Regions from separate parts of the Homo sapiens genome. Here regions 2, 3, 4 and 5 are each linked to region 1. Evidence: promoter capture Hi-C in 16 types of primary human blood cells and fetal thymus (Javierre and others, 2016). All regions are on one chromosome and are shown on one strand. Each heading gives the region's core, a stretch centred on a gene start or on the middle of the fragment in contact. The rest is flanking DNA. Distances are from core to core; before and after follow the strand shown.

Evidence for each region. The method cuts DNA at HindIII sites, captures the fragments that hold promoters and counts their contacts. A CHiCAGO score of 5 or more calls a contact.
Region 2: a contact is called between a fragment that was not itself captured here and the fragment with the promoter of STARD6 in region 1, in 1 of 17 cell types (monocytes). The highest score is 5.3, in monocytes.
Region 3: a contact is called between a fragment that was not itself captured here and the fragment with the promoter of STARD6 in region 1, in 7 of 17 cell types (activated CD4 T cells, naive CD4 T cells, total CD4 T cells and 4 more). The highest score is 7.0, in activated CD4 T cells.
Region 4: a contact is called between a fragment that was not itself captured here and the fragment with the promoter of STARD6 in region 1, in 5 of 17 cell types (M1 macrophages, erythroblasts, M0 macrophages and 2 more). The highest score is 10.5, in M1 macrophages.
Region 5: a fragment that was not itself captured here is called in contact with the fragment with the promoter of STARD6 in region 1 in 1 of 17 cell types (non-activated CD4 T cells); the score reaches 5.0 in non-activated CD4 T cells.

The regions. Positions count from the first base shown.
Region 1 is chr18:54,356,544-54,359,207 of GRCh38, reverse strand. STARD6 (StAR related lipid transfer domain containing 6) reads left to right here and starts at 1,350. Exons shown (of 8, transcript NM_139171.2): 1 at 1,350-1,416. C18orf54 (chromosome 18 open reading frame 54) reads right to left here and starts at 1,302. Exons shown (of 9, transcript NM_001288980.2): 1 at 1,133-1,302; 2 at 338-434. RefSeq lists enhancers at 716-785, 287-798. The HindIII fragment of the contact is 3,120 bases long and covers 1-2,487 here.
Region 2 is chr18:55,321,310-55,323,973 of GRCh38, reverse strand. All of the region lies in intron 8 of TCF4 (transcription factor 4), which reads left to right. Among named protein-coding and RNA genes, the nearest start is that of TCF4-AS1, 130 kb to the left of the region's middle. RefSeq lists a silencer at 1,187-1,566. The HindIII fragment of the contact is 2,973 bases long and covers 1-2,664 here.
Region 3 is chr18:54,981,455-54,984,118 of GRCh38, reverse strand. No RefSeq gene overlaps it. Among named protein-coding and RNA genes, the nearest start is that of CCDC68, 23 kb to the right of the region's middle. The HindIII fragment of the contact is 1,368 bases long and covers 611-1,978 here.
Region 4 is chr18:54,963,796-54,966,459 of GRCh38, reverse strand. No RefSeq gene overlaps it. Among named protein-coding and RNA genes, the nearest start is that of CCDC68, 5.7 kb to the right of the region's middle. The HindIII fragment of the contact is 1,171 bases long and covers 764-1,934 here.
Region 5 is chr18:54,938,122-54,940,785 of GRCh38, reverse strand. All of the region lies in intron 4 of CCDC68 (coiled-coil domain containing 68), which reads left to right. Among named protein-coding and RNA genes, the nearest start is that of CCDC68, 20 kb to the left of the region's middle. The HindIII fragment of the contact is 2,460 bases long and covers 134-2,593 here.

The sequences.
Region 1 (2,664 bases), core at 101-2,600:
CTGATTTTATTTTACAAAACCTTGAAAGAGAAAGCTGTTGTATTGGTCTCCGTAAGTGGGTGATAACATTTACTAGTTATTTCAACTCACAGGACAGACAAAAAGAAAATGCACAATTTAAGTTTCATTATGAAAAGTTTTCCAACTTTTCCCCAAAAGAGTATACAAAAGTAGAATCGTTCAATAAACCCCTATGTACTCATCATCCTGCTTCCAACAATCGCTGAACAGACCCCAATTGTAGCTAAAGTGGGTAGGGACCCACCCACTTCTCCCCACTTCAGCCACAGGATTATTTTGAACCCCACATATCTCATGCAAATCCCATATATCTTACCATTTCCTCCGTACAGGCTTCAGTTCGAATCTCCAAAAGAAAATCCATCACGCGGAAGAACAGAATGTTAAACTTATTGACAACAAATTTTAACTAACTTTGATTCAAAAACAGAATGTTCAGTGTTAAATAGCCAATGGGAATATCGCACAGGAAATTAAGAACAACTCTTGGAAATAGCTCTGTGACTGCTAAGTTAGGAAAGGGAACGTTTGTTTACTCGGCAGCAGAAAACCAGGAACCCACCGACCGGCCAGCGAAGGTCGCCCGTCTCCAGCAGTGCGCATCGTTCCCCTACCCCGGGCGCCCTGAATTCCAATTTTTCCAGTCCCAATCAGGCGACACCCTCCCTTTGGTGTTCCACCGCCCGTCAGTCACAGACACAGACAAGTTCTTCAGTGAGATGCTTTTCACTCCGAAACCATTTATTCAGCAGCCAGGGCGAGCGCAGCAATGGACTGAAGGAGAAGTGTTCCGAAGCGACAGCCCCAGAGCGCAAGCCCCTTCCTGTCGCCGCCTCAGGTCCGCAGACGCCCGTGTGAGCCCCCTCCGCCGCGTCCCGCGACCCTCCCTCGCCCAGGGGGCACTCCCCCTACAGTGTTCTTCCTTCCACAGAGACTCCACAAGCGCCCTCCCTCAGGAGACGTCTCCTCCTCTTTCCTCGCCACTCTCCTTTCGCCTTTTCTCGGCTGTCACAGGATGGGACAACCCTCGAAAAGACACCCTCCTTTCCGTCCTAACTCACCCCTAAGGCCCCAAAATAAAAATAAAGGAAAACAAAAACAAAAACCGCACACTTCCACAGCTCTCCGCCGAAAGCTCAGGCCTGTTACCCAACGCGAGACACCACAAAGCATCCCCAACCCGGACACCGCCCCGCCTCAGGCTCGGCTCACTCGCAGCTTCCTCCGCAGTCACAGCAGAGCTCGACACCCGCGCTCGCTTTCAAACCGCCCCAACATGGCGCCGGCCTGCGGTGCGCATGCGCGGCAGTGGGGCGCCGGGCGCGAGCGGAGATGAGGGAGCGGCCGGAGAAGAGAGGATGCTGTTGAGCGTTAGGTCGCGACCCCTGCTGGAAGGTGCTGTTTCTCCCTCCTTTCTGGGGCTGGGAATGGGGGGATGTGGGCTGCATCCAAGTCGCTGCCCCCCACGCCCTTCCAACCTCCGTCACAGCTATTCTCGGCCAGTTTGCGCGGGGACTTGCTGATCTCCCTTCAGCCGGCCCCGGGGTCTGCGGGAGGGGACTGGGTGGGGAGGGAGACTTAAGGGCGCTGGCGGCTGTCGTTCCGGTCGCTGAGAGTCTGCCCCACAGCTCCAGTTTTTCCAAGTGAGTTCAGCCTCCCCGCTTCCAGAGCATCCCCCGCCAAAAATAAGATATCGTCTCAGCTAGTAGGCAGTCCCCCCTCACCACTTCTTTCACTCCCTCTTCAGTGCCTTTCCTCTCACACCCCGGAGCCTCTCACACACAAAGCAGATGGGAGATTGGAGACCCGAGTTTAGCCAGGGATGGGATTTAACAAACTCCTAGGAAGCCTTGATTCCCAGGGAAGAATGGCAGTGACCCCGCACGGATTGGGGACCCAGTCAGGCAGCTCAGAAAGAGGGTCATTGTACAAACAGATGTAAAGACTCACTAACATGTGTGAACCTGTCTGTAAGTCTGGAAGGAATCCAGTTTCAACCAATTGGTGTATCAAAAAAAGAGGCCATCCCAATGTTGGTTTATGTTTATTTTCCACTGACCCTATGAGTGAAGATATCCTTGACCATGAGTCCATCTGAATATGTTCCAGCTCATCCGACGTTCCACCACCATGTAATACAATTGTAGTCTTACTGTTTGCACTTTCTTCTTTTTACCCTTTGTAGCCTACTAAATTTTACCTTCCCTTTTCTCTTAGCAAATGAAAAAGTCCGGAAGCTATAACGTTCAGTTTAGTGGTTAAACACAGGTCTATTGTGGCAGTAATAGTTGGTGATTTGAAAATAAGACATACCCTGCTAGTGGTATGTCCCAATAATCTTCAAAGTCTCTAGATCAATTAATATCAAGTAGGTTTCCAATAGGAAATCAAGAACGGTGTTTTATATGCTAAGACGAGCCCTGGTCGGGGATTAACAATCCTTGTTAATTGTTAGTGACGTAAGCTTAAAAACTTAAATTTTTGTATCCACGTTCCACCTAAGTGTCTTTTTAAACTGAGTTCCTTTAAAATAGTTTCTTAAAGATTCTTTTTATAAACAGTATCTTTTAAAGTTTTTTGTACTATATTTTTCTTTCATCTTGGGGCATATATGTAGCAAATGTTTCCTAATGAAGACAAAGT
Region 2 (2,664 bases), core at 43-2,542, 960 kb before region 1:
TAATTAATAGGAAGGCATTTATATGTTTGCAAAATAGGTAAGAAAAGGTATTTAACGTAGATGAAGCAGAATGATTGTTTATCAAAAGAGTTTAGAGATCTTTCTAGCAGTCTACCCATGGAAAGTTAGGATCTAGAAAAGCCTTCTCAATAAGGGAAGAAACAACAAAGAAACAACAACCAGGAAACTCCCCAACTTATCTCTTTAAATTCCAGCCTCTTTTCTAAGTGGTGGTTTTTACATACTGTCCTCTGGTAGGTGGGTACCCTGGCCTTGTGTATTAAGCAGTGAGGGTGGTTTAAAGGTTACAAATGTGATCCTGTCAGATTGACAACTAACTGTTCTAATGAGGAAAAAATCCTCAAAGCATGAAATTTGAATGAAATGTGTGATTATAATTCAAGTACTGTTTACACAAACCTCTGGGGACCTTCCGAATAAATGCAGAGCAAGTGAGTTAGACAAACCTCTGGGCCTTCGATACGTGTGTGTGGATGTGCGGTGTGTGTGTGTTTATTTTAGAGAGTGGGGAAACTTTCCACCATTAGCCCGGGCTTTGCTCCTCGGAACCAACACCACTATTCCTCCTTGTTTATTAATACTGTATGTGTTTTGTTAGCATATTGAGTTGTAAGGAAATAGGTGCTTTGAATTATTAAAGTTGATTCTTGAGAATAGATGTATGCTCGGGTGGCATTTGCTTCGGCATATGCAAATGATTTAGTTTCATTTGGGATCAATTCCCAGAGGCCCTCCTTTCCTGTGATGCTCTGAATTTGGCAAGCTCAAGTCAGCCCATCTCCTCTCCCCACATCCCTCCCTTTCTTTCTTTCCTTTTTTTGTACCTCCCCCCGCCTTTTTGTTGATTGGTATAATATTTTTAAAAGACAATAAATAAATATATCAACTTGCTTGTGAGAAACCTTGCCATCTATAAGGATTCTATTGTTCAGTTGTGATCAATAAAGGTGAACAAAGGTTTTCACGTTCTTAAAGTTTAGCAAAATCGAAGTTTAGTAAAAATGTGCATGAGATGTTTGCTAAAATATTTATACAGATACTGGGCTGCGGGGATGCTGCAAAACTCTGAAAATGTGGTCTCAGGGGTGCCTTTGGGGAAACTGACAGCTGTAAGATATTCGTCGGTTCGAAGGTACCAATAAACTTGCTTTAGAGCCCAGCAAATAGCGTGAAGTTGCAGTAGATTGTCTAAAGCTACAGTGAAAGCACCCAACTCCAGAGTGGAGAACGTGCGCCCTTGGGGCGCCCAGCGCCAGCGAGGGGAGCAGCGCCCCAGCCCCTCCGTAGGCTCTGGGCCCATGCGGCTGTCTGCGGCGGGGCGAGGTGAAGTTCATGGGCGGCCGCGCTTCCCACCAGCTCCGGGGAGGCCGGGGCCCGCGGAGCCCGGGGCGGGCCGCACTGCTACTCTGTTTCATTCCGCAACCCCGTTTTGTAGGTTGTTGACCAAGCAGTCAGAAAACACTGCCCCCTCTCTCCTTTTGAGCGAGGTCAGAGACGTGGTGTTTTTTTTTTTTTTTTTTTTTTTTTCTTCCCTCCCCTTTCCCTCCCCTTTCTCCGAGTCGAGTTCTCAGGCAGCTGCGTACAATGCTGGGAGCTAGCCAGCAGCAGAGACAGATGGCAGAGTTATTAGATGTGCATCATACGATTCCCTTCCTGCCACTCGCTTTTTAATCAAATTAAAACAAAAAAGAAAGAGAGGGAGAGAGAGAGAGGGGGAGTCAATTAACTGCATTTGTATTCTGCTCAATAATGGACCCTGTTCCACTTTTACCCTAAGGCAGTTGAGTGGAAATTTTAGAGAAGAAAAGGGTGCCTAGAACAAAACAAAACAAAAAAAAAAAAAAAAAGGAAAAAAAAAAAGAAAAGAAAAAGAAAAAAGTGAAGACTGCAGAAATTTGTAAGAATCGGCATTATTCGAGGAACTAATAAAAACCCCTCGGAAAAGTTGAATCGATCTCGCGTATGCATTAGGATTTCGAGCTCCATCAGGGCCGGGCTGCCTTCCAGCTCCGCTGCGCAAAGTTGAGCGTCTGACAGCAGCGCCGCGGCCTCCCCCGCCCGCCAGGAATGGTCTCTTCCTGCTTTGCATATTCACCACGCTTGGCCCGGCCATATGGGAAAATGCAACTGAAGGAATTGTTGTGAAAAAAGGGACAGCGAGTTTGAAATAAAAGTTGTTAGAGTGGTACTGAGGAGAAAAAAGAATCCGAGACCATGTACTGCGCATACACAATCCCGGGCATGGGCGGCAACTCTTTGATGTACTACTATAATGGGAAAGCGGTAAGCGAATGCGGGCTGCGAGGGGGATTTTTGACAAGTTTTATTGTCGCAGGGATGAGCATCCTAGGTGGTGATCATTGTTTGCAAAGTTGTGCAGGACTGCCGCACCTTCCTGGGTGCCATGAAATATTTATCATTTGCCAATCCTAAGATCTTCTTCTTGCCTACTTCTTCTCCTTCGTCTTTTTTTCCCCCCACTCCTCCCCCAGAGTAGAAAAATAGATGCTTTCAGAGCTTTAGAGAGTGGATCCTAGAGCGAAAGTTTGCAGTCAGGTAAAGTTGAGAGGTGGTATGATTTTTTTTTTTTAAAGAGTTTTGGAAAATTCTTATTCCTTCCAAATGACTGTTAGAAAGGAAAAG
Region 3 (2,664 bases), core at 45-2,544, 620 kb before region 1:
AGTACAACTCTTTCTATTACTGCATCAAGAGGTGCTGGTCCTTCTCAGAAATGACAGGCAGAAATAGGTTAATTAGATCAAATATTCACAGCTTCTGGGTTGCCCTCCCAGATCACAGTGTTTTATCCTTTAAACAGTGACCACTGAAGTTCGAGTCTGGAAATGGGCAATGCTTTGTCAGGCAGGAGTAAAGGAGTGAGCTGCCCAGATCCCCCCCACAAGAGTGTCTGCTGTCTTCAGTCTAGCAGAGAGGACACACTGGCCCTCTTGTTTTCTTTCTTGGAAGCCTAGAGCCACTTCCGAGGATCATACGCATTCAGTAAAGAACTTAATATCACCCCCCACCCCCAACGTGCCATATTTAATACAGTGAAGTCCAGTCCCAATGTTTTGCCTGTGATAAACTGAGGAAGGTTTCTGCTCCGACGAGGACCTGGGCTCCGAAGGCAGGTAGTCCATTCATGCCTCAGTTCCACAGCTTGGGGCCCAGTGACTTTGGGTGAGTCACTTAATCGGCCCCTGCCTTGGTTTCTTAATCTGCAGGAAGGGCGGGTGGTTATGTAGTAACAGGGTTGCTGTGAGGCTCATATGAGATAATCCAGCTAAAGCTTTTAGCACACAGCTTAGTACAAAATAGATGCTCAATAAACGTTAGGCATTTTACATTCTGATTTCAGTCCTTGAGTTTACAGTTAAAATTTTGATACATCTAGAGCCAAGACTAATCGTGTGAAACAAGACAGCCCTACAGACAATATCTAAGAAGATCCCCTCAGCCCTACTCCAGGATCCTAAATACGTACACTGTTTCAGGAACCTGGATGTCTAGACGTTTTATGAAATGTCCACTAGGTGGCAACATGTTGTCATATTTACTGTCCGCACTGTCTAAATTTCTAACAGGGATCCTGAAAAACCACATTCACCTTATCTGATACTTAACAATTTTATCATAAACAAAACCAGATTCGCTACAGTCATTATTTCAACTAAAAAAAAAAAAAGCTCCAGTTAGTGGGCTCTTGTTTTAAAAATAACATATTTGTTATTCACATTGTTTGAATGGTTATCCTTGTATCATACGAACAATATGATGTTAAATATCACACTTGAGGATTTCTCTGTTTTTTATTCTTATGCTCCTATTTGATTTTTAAATGTTTTAACACATTGATTACCTGACAAAGGATGAAGGATTTAGATGTTTGTCACGATTCAAAAAAAATCTCATTGCATGACCTGGTCATTTGGCATCATATTAACGACTTGGGGAAAGAAAGGATAAAATTTTTTTTTTCTTATGCATTTTATGTTCTTAAATCAAAGTCTCGATGCAGACCCCAAAACCAAAAATGCCAGCAACCGCACATGGGACACAAACCTTGTGTTCTACCAGGCTGGGATTTTTCAGAAAATTCAAAGTAATCTCTCTAAAATGAACATATACTTTACTTTCCTTGCTATTCCTTTAAAGTGTGTTTTTTTGGAGAAATGTAGATAAGGAATGAAGGAAGAATAAATGGATGACTCTGACATAAAAGGAGGCTTTGGGATGCAACTGTTATGTGACAGCAAGGAGTAAAAATATAAGAATTTGTGGACGAGGAAGAGAGGTGGTAAGAAAAGGTTCCCAGTGATGTGAATTAGGATTGAAGAACTCCAGCCTGAAGAGGGGATTGTTATGTGGAGCACAGTTAGATAATAAAACCGCTATAAAGACACATGAGAGATTTGTATGATAAAATGTTATGTTATCTTATATAATAAATATTTTGGTACATGATTGAGAGGTCTTTGAGAATGCCATGATACATTTTATTGTTCATTTATATTTATTAAAAGCATAAAATAAAAGGGTAAATAGTTGATATTAACAAATAAAGTTCCAGAACAAGTTCTGTCTATAGGCATTTCTTATGAATTCTTACTGTCTATAGTAAAATAATGATATATTACTGATCACTACACATGTTAAGCTTTTACTTTTTAATTAAAACTGTCATTAATGATCCAGCTACTGCCTGGAAATTAACCTCAGGCTTATTATAAAATTAGCATTTTCAAAGTCATATTTTAAAGCAACATTTAAATGTCTGTTGTTCTTAGTGGTAGGGGGCTCCATAGTAGGAAAGGAGGCATATTGATTACAACACAGATTATTGAGGAGGATTGTCTCAGCATACCCTTCCAATTATATTGAAAATCACCTTGTGATAAGACATAAATATCTGTAAATGTTATATAATGGGGTTTTATCTGTTTGTTTTGCAGAAAGCACACTGTTAGTAAACAGATGGTTTAGAACTATTATAGTTGCCAATAACTGGAAACTTGGCCCTAGAAAGGACAAAATACTGTATATAATTGTTCATTAAACAAATATTTATTGACTCTCTGATGTGGGCCTTAGAAATTCAATAGTGATCCAAATAGGCATAGTCTCTGACCCCACAACTGCTCCTAGATTCTAATAGAAAACAGACAATAAATAAACATTGTAACACATGTGGTAATGATGGAAAAGAAGGCTACAGGAAATTTGAAATAAAAGAAGAAAGTTTACCTAGAGTACACACTGGAATTTAAGTTTACTAAATAAATGACTTGTACATGTAAAACAACAACAACCAAAAACCTAAACAAAACCCCATATGGTTTAATATT
Region 4 (2,664 bases), core at 100-2,599, 610 kb before region 1:
ACAGGACAAGGGGTAAGGAAGCCACTCAATAGTGGCAAGACACCAGGAGCCATCCTCATAGAAGCAGAGATGCCGCATTAATGCTGGGTAAAGCTTCGAGGGAGAATCCCCAGACTCTAGCTGAAACCCTAAAGCTCTTCCATCCTTATCCAGTCTCCAGGAATCTCAGCGATTGCAGGGTTCTTGCTTTGGGACCTGGATGAGCTCTCCATCTTCCTTATTGCCATGTGGACCCTAATATTAACTCCCCACTATTACTTGAGCTAACATGAAGACATTATTTTTCTTTTCCCAAAATTTTTATTTTGATATCAACCACTTACCAAACCATCAAGAAAGATAATATTTCAAAGAAAAAACAAAAACAAAAACCAAGAAACAGGGATATAGGTATCAAACCACAATTATCCCCCAAAACACTGCTGTTGCAAAAAGGATAGAAAGCCAAAATCCCATAGACTATTAGAGAATACCTTTAAAAACAAGCAAAAATATTTTGTAAAGGTATGGTTTTCACTACAGTGTGTGGACAGGTTCAAACAGTGGATAATCAAAGAAAATTCATCTTGTTTGGCCTGGGAATACAGTAAGCTTTCTTCTATTCCAGCTGAAGAAATAAAAACAAACCAACATGAGCTTCTGAAGTTAATATTGAAATTGTCTTTACCAACTGAAGGTAGCATGAGAATAAAGGCAGAGAAAGTGAACAAATAGCAAAGACAAGTAGTCTTGAAATTCAGTCTCTACCTATAATCAATAAGCTTGTCTAACACAGCCTTCCTACAGCCTTATCCTGGGCTTCACATCCCTCCTCCAAACTTAGAAATACCTGAATTTAGAATGCACATCTCAACCCTCTTGTCTTGTTTCACCTTTCTCTATGAGTTCTTTACTCAGGGGTAAGGGCTCACAGTGCAGAGGGAAGTGTTATTTATTATTCCAGCTACTGTTAAGATAAAGTGAACCAAGCTCATCAACAGAAAGAATGCCTACAGAAATCAGAACTTAATAACTCCAACTGGGTGCTTTGAAAAGACATTTCCAACAGGATATTTAGTTTTGCTAAGAGAGCAGCAATCATTTTAAATAATGATGTCCAGGGCTGACTTTTTGCTGGTTCACCTGGGTTCCTACTCGCCAGTTGTCTATTATGGCTGGCAGCTTTTCTGGTTGGTCAGTACTACTGCTCAACCGATAGGTTCATATTCTGAATATCACTCTTGGTTATGTCATGGTTTCTGTACCTATTATGTGAAAGGAGTCCTAGAAAAAGATTCACCTGTGTAGACAGACTTGTATACATAAGTAGACATTCACATATTGTTGATAAGCATTGGCTAATTATTTTACTAATGAACTCATTCAATAGCCAGAGTTTCAGTTCCTACAATATTGTTTTCCCTTCCTCTCTTAGCAGAGATGGACAAGAAAAATGTATTTCCTGTACTTCTTGTTTGTTTCTCAAGGCTTGCTTACATTTCTCTGCTTTATCTCCCACTAGTCTCCTGTGGTTTGGCTGGACTGGTCTACTTGGTAGATTCCCAGTCTGCCTGAAAATTGACTTGCCCTGGTGCCTTTGGCTGTGTCTGACCTTTAAAGGCTTCCATGCTCTCCCAGAATAACATGGTAATTATTCTCAAAAACCAATGCCAAGCCTACCTCCTCTTGAGGCCTTCCCTAGAACACCAACTAAAATCAGTACTTTCTCTTAGTTTTCTAGTACTTAGTAGCTTCACTAATACTCAGTGATGATTTATTGCTTGAAAATATTGTAGCTTATTATATAATTGCATGGATAGGTATTTTTATGTGCTTATATGTGATCTAGCCATTTAAAGTGCAAACTCTTTGAAATTTAAAATTGTAAAATGGACCCCAACACTTAGCATATCAGCTGTGAACTGTGCAGAATAGATGGAGTTTTGTCCTAAGCTTGCGAGAGACATTAGGTATAGAGTGTTTTCCCTAGCAGTCAGCTAAATCGTGAGCTTGGAGCTCAAAATGCAAGACTTGGAGGGCTCATACAGTTAAATTTTGTCAAGATCAATGCTGCAACTTCCACATTTGCATTCCCTTTTCCTTTCCACAAGTCACAGAAAATGTAGAAAGGCGGTAGGTATGGGAGAGGAGGAAGAAGTTGGAAAATTATCCAATACCAGGAACCCCTTAGGGTGGCGTTATGGGGACGTCACAGGAATGTGAGAGGACAGGAGGGAAAGCAGGGAAAGGCATCACCAAAAAAGTGATGGGAGCATGCCTCCTTTATAATTTTGCAAAGCCTTCTTGATTTTGTGCCTTAAAAATGAAATATTTCATAACAAAACCTAATTAATGTTTGAATTATGACCTGACCTAGGTACAAAACTATGGTAGGCAGAATAATGCCCTCCTGCAAAGAAGTCCATGTCCTAATCCTTAGCCCCTGTGAATATGTTATCTTATGTGGAAAAGAGACTTTGCAGATGTGATCAAGTTGAGGATGTTGAGATGGGGAGATTATCTTGGGTCATCTAGTTGGTCTTAATGTCATCACAAAGGTCTTTATAAGTGAAAGTGGGACAGAGTCAGGAGGACATGTGCTGCTGGTTTTGAAGGTGTAGAAAGGGGCTATAAGTGGAGAAATGCAGAGAGCCTCTAGAAAAGGCTAGAAAATGCAAGGGAACA
Region 5 (2,664 bases), core at 114-2,613, 580 kb before region 1:
ACAAGGCTTACTTATCGAAAGTAAATGAGAAGATGTTGGCCCAGCCAAGATCCATGACAGCAACATTTCCCAATGACAGGCAGAGCTTTTAGACTCACGTGGGCCACATGAATAGACACATACAGTTGAAGCTTTTAGGCCTGAGTTGAGTCAAGACTTTGTTAGATAGTTGATAAGTTTGAATGCACTCCCTTCCCCAACATCAGCTGTATATACCTAAGGTCGAGCAATCTGCACTTAGCCTTGTCTGGATTACACCAAGCTAAACCACATCTGAGCCAAGTGTACTTAATCAGTGTTGTCCACTATAGGCATGGCCACAGAGTCCACCAGAACGTGGGGTATAATGCATAAATGTAGTCATTTTCATCACCCTCAGCCTCCCACACTAACATAACTAGCTTCAATTATTATTTAAAATACTTCTAAACTAGAAAACAAGGTTATGTTTAGGAATGATAGGGAAGATTAAAAAATTCAGTTTGGGCTATGTTGAGCTGCCTGTTAGACCTCCAAGTAGAGGCTTCTAATAGGCAGCTGGACATCTGATTCTGGAGCTGCGGGTAGAAGACTGAGCTAGAAGGTCCAGGATACAGGGTAGAGATTTTGGGCATTTGAGGATTGTATTTAAAGTTCTGAAACTGGAGAAGTTTACCAAGTGAGTGAGTGTGGAGAGAAATGAGAGAAGATCTAAGGACTGAGTCTTGAGGGGACCGTTCCCAATGTTTAGATATCAGGAAGAAGAACCATCCCAGGAAGGTGAGATGAGGCTGGTGGATTAGGAGGAAAAGAAGGAGATTTCAGGGCTCTAGGGTAGAGCCAAGATGCTGCATTTCTAACAAGCTCCTGTTGATGCTGAGCTGCTGGGACCGTAGACCACAGTTGAGAGTAGCAAGGCCCTAGATTATCATGGCAAAATCTCTACAAGGCCAGAGGGCTGATGATTTGATGTGTGGTTGATCTGCTGACCTCTTATGGTTTGAAGTTACTCGTGTCAAGGCCACTTTAGCAGGAGTCACTGAAGGCAAATGAGGAGAGGGTTTCAGAAGCACGGCGGGACCCCTCTGTCAAATAATGTCCATGGGCCAAGGAAATTGCGGACTGAATGCCCACCATAGATAGGAGGAGCTTCTTAGGAATGGTGACGACACTGTGTTGCCATGTGTCTGCCTCAGCCACCTCAAACCACAGAAGGTCAGCAGATCAACCATGCATCAAAGCATCAGCCCTCTGGCCCTGTAGAGATTTCACCATAGTGATCTAGGGCCTTGCTACTCTCAAGTGTGGTCTGCAGTCCCAGCAGCTCAGCATCACCAGGAGCTTGTTAGAAAGGCCGCATCTAGGCTCTACCCCAGACCTCCTGATTCAGAATCTGCATTTTTAACCAGTTCTATCACCCAGTAGTTCACAGGCACATTGAAGTTTGAAAAGCACTGATCAATGATCTTTGTAGCCATCTACCACTGCTGATAATCTGCCTTCTTCAAGAGTTTTTTTTTTTGTCAAATATTCTTTAACAAATTAAAAAAGAAAATAATTCCTACTCTGTATATGAAGAGTGGAAGTATGCACTAGGGTCTTGACTCTAAAACACAAAACTGTGACAGAGTTACGGTGAGGGAGGATATTATCCACATACACTAAGTTCTTTTTGTTTTTTATTTCTGCAATCATAGTTATTATATTGTAGTGAAAAGAACATATATTTTGTTGTTAAACAAACTGGGATTCTAATTCTGGTCTGGCAGTTACTTTAGGTAAAACCTTAGGTGTGTTAGTTAAACTCTCATCTTCAAATTCCTCACCTGTGTAAAGGGCCTAGCACCTTCCAGTGTTTTGAGTATTCAGACAAAGGACTGTACATAAAACATCTAAAAGATGACCTGGCATATAACAGGTGTTTAACAAATAGAAGCTGTTATTATAATTGTAGTGTATGTGTAATTGTGTAATCATTTCTCAGTTTTGAAATAAATTGAAAGAACAGAAAGAGCACACAATAACTATTCAAGAGGCAGTGCCATGAGGTCTCCCGCTCACTTGCTGCATAAACTTGGGCCCTGGTCCTCAGTTTCTACATCTGTAAAATGGACAGTTTAAGTTAGGTGGTTTCCAATTTATTATCCACCTCCGTGTGTCCACGATTCCAGATGAGATTTATGTTCCAAGTGTATTTTCAGTGAGCTAGAGCTTACATCAGGTTATAATGGCAGTGTCATTCAGTTCTGATATCTCTGATTGGAAATTTAATATGAGGTAATTACAGTGAAGCATCACCAAACATTGACTATTATGTATTGTAACTATTAGGTCTGACAGTATTAGTCTATAATGCAATGTGACCAAAATGTAATTATGTCCACAACTTAGATTTTTAAAAAAATGTCTGGCCTTGTGGACATTATTTATCTCCTAAAAAGCCCTTATCAGTACATTTGAAACTATAGAAAATATAAAAGTTAAAATGTCATTCTAACTCTTTCAATATAAGAATCTGTTTAAATTTCAGCAAATTAGAAGTCAACTGCTTCATCTAGAATTTCCCATTGATATTTGAGATTCAAAAGATGTTTGTTTGTGCTGATCTGAAGCTTCTTTGATATATGTAATACTAAATGATCATTATTGTTGTCAAAGTTTGTAGAGGAAAAGATAGTCAGGTCT